Regions from separate parts of the Homo sapiens genome. Here region 1 is linked to region 2. Evidence: promoter capture Hi-C in 16 types of primary human blood cells and fetal thymus (Javierre and others, 2016). All regions are on one chromosome and are shown on one strand. Each heading gives the region's core, a stretch centred on a gene start or on the middle of the fragment in contact. The rest is flanking DNA. Distances are from core to core; before and after follow the strand shown. Region 1 overlaps LOC107985995 (a long non-coding RNA gene). Region 2 holds the start of SPATA3-AS1 (SPATA3 antisense RNA 1).

Region 1 (6,341 bases), core at 1,121-3,620, 850 kb after region 2:
ACTGAAGCTCTGTGCCCATTAAAGAACTATTCATTCTCCCTGCTCTCTCCAGCCCTGGCAGTTGCCATTTTATATTCAACTTCTATGAATTTGACTACTTTAAACACCTCTGATAAATGGAATCATACAGTATTCATCTTTTAGTGACTGGCTTATGTCACTTAGCATTATCGTCCTCAAAGCTCATCCATCTTGTAGCTTATGACATAATTTCCTTCCTTTTTAAGGTTAAACAATATTCCAGATTTTTTAAGGTTAAACAATATTCCATTGTGTGTATATAGATATTACATACTACAATATTACATATCATATCTTATTACATACTATATTACATATATTATAATATTGATATATATCATATATAAGATTACACATATTACATACATATATAATTACATATATAAGATATATATCAATTACATGTTACATATATTATATATAAGATATATATATCAATATTCTATTGTGTATATATATCAACATTCCATTGTGTATATATAAATATTCCATTGTGTATATATATATACACACACACACAACTTATAGTTTGTTTATACTATATCTTATAATATGTAATAAGATCAAGACATTTACCAATAATTTGTTCCTTCTTTAAGCCATTGGGAAATTACATATATATATATATATATATATATATATATATATATATATATATATATACAATGGAACACTGTTTAACCTTAAAAAGGAAGGAAATTATGTCATAATTTGGTGTATATATAGGAGATATATATATATATATATATATATATATCTCACTGCATTTATCCATTCATCCATGAGGCATGATGGACATTTGGGTTGCTTCCACCTCTTGACTATTGCGAATGATGCTACAATGAGTATGGACATACAAATATCTCTTCAAGCTCTGCTTTCAGTTCTTTCTGGATATATACCTAGAAGTGGGACTGCTGGATCATATGGTAATTTTATTTTTGATTTTTTGAGGAACCTTCATACTGTTTTCTATAGTGGTCATACTATTTTACAACTGCACCGGCAATCCACAAGTGTTCCAATTTCTCCATATACTCAGCAGCACTTGTTATTTTCTGTGTTTTGTTTTAATGGTGGCTGTCATAATGGATGTGAGGAGATAACTCATTATGGTTTTGAATTGCATTTTGCCTAGTTATTCTAAATAATAAAAGTCCTTTGGTCATTATCAGCTCCAAAGAACAATCTCATTTTAGTAAATATAATAGGCAGAATAACATCCCCCCACTCCCACAAAGCTTATGGCTGTGTTATATGGCTATGTTGTGCTGCATTACAAGAAGGAATTAAGGTTGCAGGTGGAATTAAGGTTTCTTGTCTGCTTCCCCTACCCACCTGTGACTCCTTCAGTGTTGGAACAGAGCTTGGAAGAACATGAAACGGGCAGGAAAGGCCATCCTTAACAAAGGCAGATGTAATATGACATTTGCATCTTCTGCGTAGGGCAGATTCCCAGCGGTGATTCTTTCTTTTCTATACCACACTGTGGGATCCTAGGTCTAAGTTATCCCCTTTGGACTCTTGGGAAATCCTTGTCTTTAGCCAGGTGCTTCTCACTCTATTTTCATCCTCTGCTACCAATAGTAACCTCCAGCCTCTTTCGGCTGAGGCCCCTTTCCTTTGGCATGAAGCCCTTTGGACAGGTCGTTTCCAATAACCCAAAGCCAGACCCTACTTGTAAGTCCTCTTGGCTCACAAGAACACTCTGACATCCTCTCCCCACCTCCACCAATGTGCAGTTTTCTCTCCACTGCATATATATGTGTTTGTATGGCCATCAGGCAGGTAGTTCCAGAAACAGACTTTGACCTTCTCAGAGGAGAAAAAAAAAGCTTAAAATCCATAAGCATGGCTGATTTTACAGTCTTGAACTTCTTCTAAACAATGGCCTGAATTCATTCAACATTTTCTTATGATGAGTATTATGAACTACTACTTTTCTATTCTTGCTTTTAAGATTTTGCCCAAGTTTATTCTTAAAGTAGTCAATATGTGTTTATATAGCATATCTACGTAGAAGCCAGAATTAGTTTCATGCAGAAATAATGTGTTTGCAGTTATAGTAAATAAAATATTCATAAGAACTTAGAAATTTTGAGATAATTCACATTTTATCCTTAAAGCAATTTATTCTTAGAGCTTTATGAAAGCTATATCTTCTCTGAACATTTGCCCAAACCTCCCACACTATCTGACTTTAAACTCACTATCATTGCACCATTCAATATGAGCAACGAACATTTTACAAGAACTCTCAACAATTGCAAGTAACTTTACCTACCACTTCCTCTCTTCCCTTCCCTTTTGTATCTTGCCCAGAGTTTAAGGTTCCCAGGGGTGCACAGGATTTTCACATCATGAAGTTAATTATTGCTGATATCATGAACTCTCATTTGTGACATAAATTATAACTCTAAATACCAGTTTAAACAACTTTCCAATCTAAATCTATGATATCAAAACCAAAATTATCTTACAAATGATAAATTCTCAATACTTTGCCTTTTGTAGATCATCTCTTAAGGAAAACACAGAAGAACTGTTAACATTGGTTGACTCTTAGAGAAGAGTGGGAGACCTGGGAAAATGGAGAGGAAAAGATTTTTTTTTTTTTTTTTTTTTACTAAATATCATTTTGAACCCTTTGACTTTTACACCACTTAGATTCCCAATTCAAAATTTTTTTAATTTTAAAATTGATAATTTGTATTTGAAAGTATGAAACTACCACTTAGCACTTAATGTTACAAGCAGAAGTCACCTTTGAGATCAGAAAATAGAGTTTTAATAGTTTTCTACGTTTTAAGGATAAATTAAATGACTTATATTAGATCTAGGACTTATATATAAGTTAAGCTTGGTAAATTTTTTTACTTTTTCTTTTACTTTCTGGGGAACAAAGATATCCTTTGCTCTTAGATGGCTTAATATTTCAACAGTTCCCTAGCAAGCAGACTCAGGAAAAAAAAAATGTTAACCAAAATAAAGAGAGAGCTTGGCTTTTATGGGGAAGGGGTTTGTAGAAAGGTATGTTTTATTGGTTGATGAATCCGTTTCTTAATCTGAGGGCCTACAGTCCACCAGGCCCCGTGTTGGGTCCCCTGGGGGACAAAGGTACTAAGACCTGATGCCTTCCCTGGAAAGATACTTGAGCAATGGAAAAGAAAAAGTGATGCTTTGTTTTCTCAAAGTTGGGGTTGGAGAGGGGCAAGACTTATAACACCTAGAGAGAAGCAAGAAAACTTGAAGTCAAAATGTAGTAGAAACCACTAGAGCCTGAAAACAAGGAAGGCCTGAGGACAGGAGAATGTAATCAAAACAATGGGTGAAAAAGGCTTTCTTCCATGATCCAGGTGTCCACACCCAAAGCACAGTGGAGAATCGAGGCCTGAATCTCCCACGCAATTGGCCCAACTCTCAACAGTGAGGAAATGATCACCTTGGGCCAAGTAGTGTACAAGACAAATGTTAAAGGGAAGGCCCCGACCTCCTAGGTTTATGTAAGGCCATTGTAAGCCTCAGCTTTTTCTCATTTTAAAATCAGAAATAATCATACCTATATATAAAATTGTTGTGAGGATGTGACATATTGTTTATAAAATAGCTCGCATCATGTTAGGGTTGCCGTTGTTGCTCAATAAATGCTATCTGTTGTTTTTGCTGCTGTTGTTGCCTGTAGGTAAAATTAAATGCAGTAAAGGCAGATCCTATGGATTGGCTCATTCAATCTTCATTTTACCCTCCTTTTGTGGTAACTTCCAGCATTGCCAAATCTATGAAACTCAGAACTACATTTCCAAGACTTCTTTACTTTTAGAGTTCTGGATGCCACTTAGGTTCTACCAGTTAGAAGCAATGATGTAAGATTTGGAAGATGGAAGGGAGTGGAGGCCGTCTCCCTCTCACTATTTCTTCTGGCAAGCAAATTCACAAAGGCATGAGTGTCAAGGGGCAGGAGGAGCTGTGGTGGTGGCAGCTGCTTAACCTCCAGATCATGCTGGTTGCAGTGGTTTACTCTTGACATCAATCAGGCATGGGGTTTGGGGTCCCAATTTCACTCCTTCAGCTTTCTAGGGACTTTGTCAGCATCTGATTCCTGTATTAGGTCCTTTCTGCTTAAAATACCTAGGGTGATGATTCTTATTGCTAGAACTGAATCCTGACTGATTCAGAAATGGATGCTTTCTCTAAAGAAATGCCACACATAAACTTCTGTGAAAGAATATATTTCATGCTGCTGCCTCAAACTTGCTTAAAGTTATTAGTGGATTTCCATGTTTAAACCAGGTCAGTGTTCTTATTGATGCCATTCTCTTTGAAAACTGTGAATATAACACAACTAAAGTTCTCTGGCATCCTGAACAGTTAACTCTGTATTTGTATGTCATGCTGAAAAACAGAGTATATGTTTGTGGTGACCATAACCCATCCACTGTCTTTCTTTATACTTTACTTGGTTGAAACCAAACTGATCCTTGAAATAATTTTGCCTCCTGATACTCATTCTTCCTTCCTTAGTATTAAGAATCCCAATTTTTGGCTGAGGACACAGCTAACCAGCTAAAATTTATTTCTTTTCTCCATGTAAGCTAGATGTATTGTCTGTTCTTACACTGCTATAAAGAACTACTTGAGACTGGGTAATTTATGAAGAAAAGAGGTTTAATTGATTCCCAGTTCCACAGGCTGTACATGAAGCATGGCTGGGAGGCCTCAGGAAACTTACACTCATGGTGGAAGGGCGAAGGGGAAGCAAGCACCTTCTGCACATGCTGGCAGAAGACAGAGAGAGCAAAGGGGGAAGTGCCACACACCTTCAAACAACCAGATCTCATGAGAATCCACTCACTATCATGAGAACAGCAAGGGGGAAATCTGCCTCCAATGATCCAATCACCTCCCACCAGGTTCTTCCCCCAACATTGGGGACTGCAATGCAACATATGAGATTTGGGTGGGGACACAGAGCCAAACCATATAATTCTACCCCTGGCTCCTCCCAGATCTCATGTCCTCCTTACATTTCAAAACACCATCATGCCTTCCTAACAGTCCTCCAAAGTCTTAACTAATTCCAGCATTAACTCAAAGTCCAATTCCAAAGTTTTATCTGAGATAAGGCAAGTCCCTTTCACATATGAGCCTGTAAAATCAAAAACAAGTTAGTTACTTCCAAGATACAATGGCGGTACAGGCATTGGGTAAATGCTTCTATTCCAAAAGGGAGAAGTTGGGCAAAACAAAGGGGCTACAGGTCCCATGCAAGTCCAAAACCCAGCAGGGCAGTCTTTAAATCTTAAAGCTCCAAAATAATCTCCTTTAACTTAATGTCTCACATCCAGGACACAATGATGCAAGGGGTGGGCTCCCAAGGCCTTAGGAACTTCTAGCCCTGTGGCTCTGCAGCCCCTTAGCTGCTTTCATAGGGTGGCATTGAGTGCCTGTGGCACTCAACTTGTAGGTGCACAGTACAAGGTGTCGGTGGATCTGCCATTCTGAGGTCTGAAGGATGGTGGCCCTCTTTTCACAGCTCCACTAGGCAGTGCCCCAGTGAGGACTCTGTGTGGGGGTTCCAACCCCACATTTCCCCTCTGCACTGCCCTAGTAGAGGTTCTCTGTGAGGGCTCTGCCCCTGCAGCAGACTTATGTCTGGACATCCAGGCATTTCCATACATCATCTGAAACCTAGGCAGAGGTTCCCAAACCTCACCTCTTGACTTTGGCACACCTGCAGGCCCAACACGACGTGGAAGCCACCAAGACCTAGGGATTGCACCCTCTGAAGCCATGGCCCAAGCTGTACTTTGGCCCCCTTTAGTCATGGCTGGAGCTGAAGCAGCTGGGATACAGGGCATCATGTCCCGAGGCTGCACAGAGTAGCATGGCCCTGAGCCTGGCCCACGAAACCATTTTTCCCTCATAGGCCTCCAGGACTGCAATGCAAGGGGCTGCCACAAAGGTCTCAGAAATGTCCTGGAGGCATTTTTCCCATTGTCTTGGCTATTAACATTTCTTTACTTATGCAAATTTCTGCAGCCTTGAATTCCTCCACAGAAAAAGAGTTTTTTTTTTTCCTACCACATGGTCGGGCTGCAAATTTTCCAAACTTTTATGCTCTGCTTCCCTTTTAAATATAAGTTCCAATTTCAGACCATGTCCTTCTTCACAAATATGAGGGTACACTTTTAGAAATAGCCAGGTCACATCTTAAACACTTTGCTGCTTAGAAATTTCTTGCGCCAGATGCCCTAAATCATCTCTCTCAAGTACAAAGTTCCACAGATCTTTAGAGCAGGGGCACAATGCCACGAGTCTCC
Region 2 (6,373 bases), core at 3,215-5,714:
ATCTGCCAGTCCCGAGGCAGAAGGACATCGAAGATGCGGCTATGGCATAGCCCCAGACGACGCCAGCAAGCGGAGCTGCAGGGGCAAGTGGCACAGGAGCAGGAATGCGGGCCGGCGCGAATCAGAGGCCCTGTGGGGACAGAAGGAGAGAGGTGAGGGAGGCACCTGCCCTGGGAGGCTGGGGCGGGGGAGTCTGGAACACAGTCTGAGAAGGCCCCCCACAACGGCAGCAGCTGCAGGATTACCAGGGCGAACGCTGGATTTTTTCCAAGGCATCATTGAGGATTTGGGACTGAACTACCTAAGGAAGGCAGTTCTCCCACAAAATGTTCTCTAACCAAACAGAAGAGAAGACTGACCGCATGGGAAAATGGCTGTTTTATACTGGTGCTACCTGGGAGTAGCAACAGCGACGACAACAACGATGATGATGATGGAGGTGGTGCTGATGGTGCCATGGCTTACACCTTCAGGATGCTTTGCACTTAGCATGCTCATCTCATTTAATTTCACAGTAATCCTGTAAAGGGGATACTGCTGGTCTTGTTTTACAAATAAGGAAACTGAGGCTCAGCTAATTTAAGGGATATGCCCTTTTGGGGAGTAGATTACAGAAGTTGGCTTTCTCAACTCAGGCTTTCTCACGTTTAATTCAGTGAAAATGGAATTTCAGGTGACTGCTCACCTCAGGAGAGGCTGCACTGACATTCCTGGAATTGGAGCTGCCACGTTCCATTGATCTAGAGCATTCTGATCCATCCAGAAGACAACCACAGCTCTAGTTTCCAGTCCCGATCCTATTTTCTGTTTCTGTCCTCCTCTGGTATGGATCCCAGCAGAATGTAGATGATGCCCTCTGTGGTTGGGCAAGATAATTTCTGGCTGGATTATTCCCTCCTGTTTCCTATCTGTAGCCCTGCGTCTTCTTGACAGAGCTACAGATTCTTCTGACCCTAAGCTGCATGAAACAGGTGGTCAACCTGGCAGATTCAATACACTTTCTGCTTAGACTTGCCCACGACACGTACTTTCCCGGAATGAGGAGAGGGGATTCTAAAGGCAAGACTTGTCTTTTTTTTTAATTACAAAAAAGTTTTTAAATTGAGATATCATTCCCAGGCAATAAAATTCACCCTTTTAGAGTGCTCAGTGGTTTTTAGTATATTCACAAAGTTTTGTGGCCATCACCACTAATTTCAGAACGTCTTCATTTCCCCAAAAAGAAACCCCATCTCCATGAGCAGTTACTCCCCACTCTCCCATTTCCCCCAGTCCCTGGCAATACATTTGCCTATTCTGAACATTTCATGTAAATAGAATCATTCGATGTGTGGGTTTCTGGGAGACTGGATTCTTTCACTTAGCCAAGTGTCTATAAGGTTCATCCAGGCTGTACCATGTATCAGGACACTATCTCTTTTTATTGCCAAATAGTATTTCACCATACTCATTGTACTGTGGTATTTCATACCACATTTTGTTTATCCATTCATCAGCTGATGGACATTTGGGTTGTTCCCACTTTTTGGCTATTACAAATGCTGCTGCTTTGAGCATTTGTGTACAAGTTTTGGTGTGCTTCTAATATGCTTAATAAGATGCTTCGAATTCTCTTGGATGTATACTGAGAAGTGGAATTGCTGGGTCATAAGGTAACTTCATGTTCCTCTGAGGAACCACCAGACTGTTTCCACAGCAGCTGCACCATTTTACATTCCCGCCTACAGTGTATGAGGATTCCAGCTTCTCTACATCCTCACCAACACTTGTTATTGTCCATCCTTCTGATTATACCCATCCTAGTGGAAGACTGGCATTTTCTTGAGCTACAATATTTCTGCACACAAAAAGGCTTGGATTTTAGAAAATGGCACGCTTTACTTGCAGGCCCTCATCCTTCATCTCCAACATTCCTTTCTACGCAGAGAATTCCTTTGGAAGAAGTATAGGGTGTCTGCTGTAACCACTGGCGAGCCACCACCATTTCTTGCTTTCTTGCTTTGCCTGTTCAATGGGCCAAATTCTTCTCTGAGTATGAGTCACATGTGTTCATTAAAAGACTTGGGAATGGAAAGTCTTGCTTTCTACCAGTACTGAAGATGCCAGTTCTGAAGATCATAACCCAGAAATGTTTCTCTCACTGGCTGATGATCACAATCTTTACAACATATAGTATGGTGCTCAAAATCAATATCATATGTCAAGAAAGGTTTGATTCCTGGCCATGGAAGGATCATTGGCATGGCATGCCTTATATTTAGCACTCTCATCTCCATCACTTATTTATTTTATGCCCACACAATCCCGGGGGGTAAACTGTGGCCCAGGGAGTGTGGCCTGTTCAAGGCTATGGAGTCGTGGGCACTGGCTCATGGCAGATCCAGGAGATGCTCGGACAGAGATGTTCTTCCTCTTGTGGAGACTCCTAGGCCTCTTGGAATGGAAAGGTCAGTGCTGTGGTTTAAAGTGAGGGTTCTGGAGTCAGAATAGAGTGGGTTTCCCTTCTCAGGGCTACCAGCGTCTGCTCAGGAGCAACCTGTTTGACTCCTATGAGCCTCAGTTTCCCCATCTATAAAATGGAGATAATATGGAAGAACTTTTATAGGATTATCACGTGTGAAAATTAAGACACCTGATCTGAATGCTAGGTACACAGTAAATGCTTAGTGATAATGTTAGTTTGCTATCACCATTATTGTTAGTAGTATAAACCAGCCCACCTCCTGAACTCCACTTGAATTCCCTCTACACAATCCAATGCTTATACAGACACTGTTTGGCTCCCAAGAAGACAGGGAACCACTTTTCCTGACAGCCATTCCATTTTCAGACAGAGCTAATTGTTGGGAAGTTTTTTATGTTGAGCCGAAGGCTTTCTGTCACTAATGTCTTCCATGGGTAAGATTGCTAATTTAGCAAATAAAAATATAGGATGCCCATGCAATACTGGGGACACACATACTAAAAATATTATTTGTTGTTTACTAAAATTAAAATTTAACTGAGAGTCTTGTATTTTGTCTGGCTATCCTATCCATGGGCCTGTATTTGTCTGTTTTCACACTGCTGATAAAGACATATCTGAGACTAGGCAATTTACAAAAGAAAGAGGTTTGTGGAACTTACAGTTCCACGTGGCTGGGGAGGCCTCACAATCATGGTGGAAGGTGAAAGGCACATCTCACATGGCGGCAGACAAGAGAAGAGAGTTTGTGCAGGGAAACTCCCTTTTTTAAAACCATTAGATCTCATGAAACTTATTCACTATCACGAGAACACCACGGAAAAGACCCTCCCCCGTGATTCAATCACTTCCCACTGGGTCCTTCCTACAACACCTGGGAATTCAAGAAGAGATTTGGGTGGGGACACAGCCAAACCACATCAGACCCTTAGATCTCTGAGGACAATAAGGAACAAGTCTATTCACATCTTCCACTTGACAGACAGACATCCTCCAATTCCTTCAATTGACTGTCATACACTAAATGGTCTCCCTGATCCTTCTCATCCTCCATCAACCCAGACTATCTTCCTTGGACTAGTTTGTCAGGCATCTTTTACAGCCCAAAAGGATAGCTTGATGAGGACAGAATAAAGCAGTATCATCACCTCCCTTATTCTAAACCATATACTTCTATAAATGCATCCTTGGTTTTTATTTTTTAGCAGTTGCATGGCACTGCTGATTCCTAGTGAGCAAGTATTACTATGGAACCAAGTTAAATGTTTATATGTATGTGTGGCTGTCTTCAGTGAGACTCAGGATGATGAGAAATGACAAAACCCAGGAATCCTGGTCTCTTGGGTAGAAACAAAAACAAAAACCTTCCCACTCTACAGCACAGCTCCAGGATACACGTTAACCATGCATCACTATCCTACAAGAACCAGCCTTTGGGATGACCCAGAACTCCATCAGCAGGAAGGCTGGAACTGCTGAAGCTAGAAGACAGCCCACCTGCTTTCCTGGATTGAGGGGCTGCCTTCACGTTAGCATCTGGAGATAAAAGGCAGCAAGAGGAGCGGCGGATTTCGGGTGCTGGAAGGGCTTGGAATGCTGGCTGCCGGGAGGTGGTTTCAAGGCTGGAATGCTGTGGTGTGGATTCAGGGCTAGGCTGCTGTGGTGTGGATTCAGGACTAGGCTGCTGTGGTGTGGATTCAGGGCTAGGCTGCTGAGAGGTGGAATTGGAGCTAGCATGCTGGGAGGTGGAGTCTCGGTGGCGTCTGGCCTCTGACCTTTTCTTCTTGACCTTCTTCATGGTAGATCCTCCCAACCTAAACGTGGACCTACATGGAGCTGCGTAATCTCCCGGCTCCCTCCTGGAGGGGCCGTTTGCCCTCTGCCCTAGGAGCCTGGCTTGGGCCTCCAGCTGGACCCAGGCCCCACAGAGAACAGTGACCCACACCTCCTGTGAGGTCATAAAAGCCAGGGTGGCTCCTATGGCAGGGCTTCAAGGGACAGTCTTCTCTGCAGACACCAGCCTGGTGTCCTCCTTCATCCCAGGCTGCCAGGCTAGGCAGGGGACAGCGGCTGCCCTGGTCCTCACAGCCCTGGCTACGGGGCTGGTGACAGCCAGATCCTCATGCTTCTGCGACCTGAGCGCTGCCTTCAGACACCTCTCTGCTGGCGTGTTCCTGGGTCCATGTGAGCTACCTGTTTTGCTCTAAGATACCCTGGATGTGACGCTCAGCTCTGTCACTGGCTTCCACATACCCCCTACTCCTACACCTCAAAAATCCATGTTCCCCACGCATTCATCTTCAGGTCAGCTTCCTGAAGATTTGGAGCTTCTTCGAAGGCTTTACCATGGCCCAGAGCCTGCTACCATCTCAGAGTAGCTTACCCCTTCCCCCAAAGCCTGCCCTCCCGCACTGTGGGAGGGGAGTTTGGGGGTTGACTTGACTTTTATAAGAACCTTTGCATTTGGCAGATAATTTTCCCTGAGAACATAACAGCTGTTCAGAAAACTAACATTTGTCTCAAACTCATGGCAATGGCAACCACAGACTATCTCCCAAACCCCAATTGGTTGGGTTAAACAGGTGACTGAATCTTTCTCTAGATTAATTAATTTAATGTGCTCATTAAATGTGATTTTTGTTTTAGGATGGAAGAAGGAAAAGTATTTTTAAAAGACAATCTGAAGCTCATACTGTGACTGCAACATAAAATGTGTTCACCTGAGGAGACTGCTTTCATCGCCAGTGTGTCACAGGTGGGTGAGTGTGGGACTGGCAAGCGCAGGAGCTCCTGCCCCAGCGGAAGGTTTAGAGCAGACCTATGCAGATAAAAAGGGCTTCGGTCACGCCTGTAATCCCAGCACTTTGGGAGGCTGAGGCGGGCAGATCACGAGGTCAGGAGATTGAGACCATCCTGGCTGACATGGTGAAACCCCGTCTCTACTAAAAATACAAAAAATTAGCCGGGCGTGGTGGTGGGTGCCTGTAGTCCCAGCTACTCGGCAGGAGAATGGCGTGAACCTTGGAGGTGGAGCTTTCAGTGAGCCGAGATCGTGCCACTGCACTCCAGCCTGGGCGACAGAGCGAGACTCTGTCTTAAAAAAAAATGGGGGGCTTTGGGCCACACAAAGCCAGACCCAACATGAACTCTGAAATGACAGGACATAGTTTAGGGCTTCTAGAGCCTAAAAATACCTTAATGATGACCTTTCCTCAGAACACTGAGGTTTAGCGAAATTAAGTTACTTTCCCAGGGTCACACAGCTGGCTGGGGGCATCGGAAGGACTAAATTCCAGTTTGGGGCTCATTATTTTCATGATCCCAGAAAACAATAGGGAGTCAGATAATTATACAGGCTTTGAAATAATGAATTAAAAAGTCCCCCAGTGGCCTGGTGCGGTGGCTCACGCCTATAATCCCAGCACTTTGGGAGGCTGAGGCGGGCAGATCATGAGGTCAAGAGATTGAGACCATCCTGGCCAACCAACATGGTGAAAACCTGTCTCTACTAAAAATACAAAAATTAGCTGGGCATGGTGGTGCACGCCTGTAGTCCCAGGTACTCAGGAGGCTGAGGCAGGAGAATCACTTGAACCTGTGAGGCGGAGGTTGTGGTGAGCCGAGATTGTGCCACTGCACTCCAGCCTGACGACAGAGTGAGACTCGTCTCAAAAAAAAAAAAAAGGTCCCTGAGCGAGAAGATTGAAGAAAACAAAGGCAGGAAGGATCAGAAGTGAAGGCAAGCTCAGCTCAAGAGTATTGGGTTGTGTTTGGTTGACCTTGGCCTAAGGAGGCTCTGGGAGCAAGTGAATCTGTATGAAGCTGGTAATTTCCTGAAGCCAAGAGCAATGGAACCCTTGAGGGGACTCCATTTAGAATCAGAGAGACTGGAAACCGAGGCCGGGAACC

Evidence for each region. Contacts are between HindIII fragments. The CHiCAGO score rates a contact against its expected background, and 5 or more counts as called.
Region 1: a fragment that was not itself captured here is called in contact with the fragment with the promoter of SPATA3-AS1 in region 2 in 1 of 17 cell types (total B cells); the score reaches 5.8 in total B cells.

The regions. Positions count from the first base shown.
Region 1 is chr2:230,140,503-230,146,843 of GRCh38, reverse strand. LOC107985995 (a long non-coding RNA gene) reads right to left here. Exons shown (of 6, transcript XR_001739918.2): 6 at 4,669-6,341. Among named protein-coding and RNA genes, the nearest start is that of SLC16A14, 75 kb to the right of the region's middle. RefSeq lists an enhancer at 5,640-6,168. The HindIII fragment of the contact is 1,024 bases long and covers 1,859-2,882 here.
Region 2 is chr2:230,994,123-231,000,495 of GRCh38, reverse strand. It overlaps SPATA3-AS1 (SPATA3 antisense RNA 1), which reads left to right and starts at 4,464. Exons shown (of 6, transcript NR_033879.1): 1 at 4,464-4,648; 2 at 5,111-5,219. SPATA3 (spermatogenesis associated 3) reads right to left here and starts at 4,375. Exons shown (of 5, transcript NM_139073.5): 1 at 3,962-4,375; 2 at 1-130. The coding sequence starts at 4,262. RefSeq lists an enhancer at 4,331-4,864. The HindIII fragment of the contact is 18,304 bases long and covers 1-6,373 here.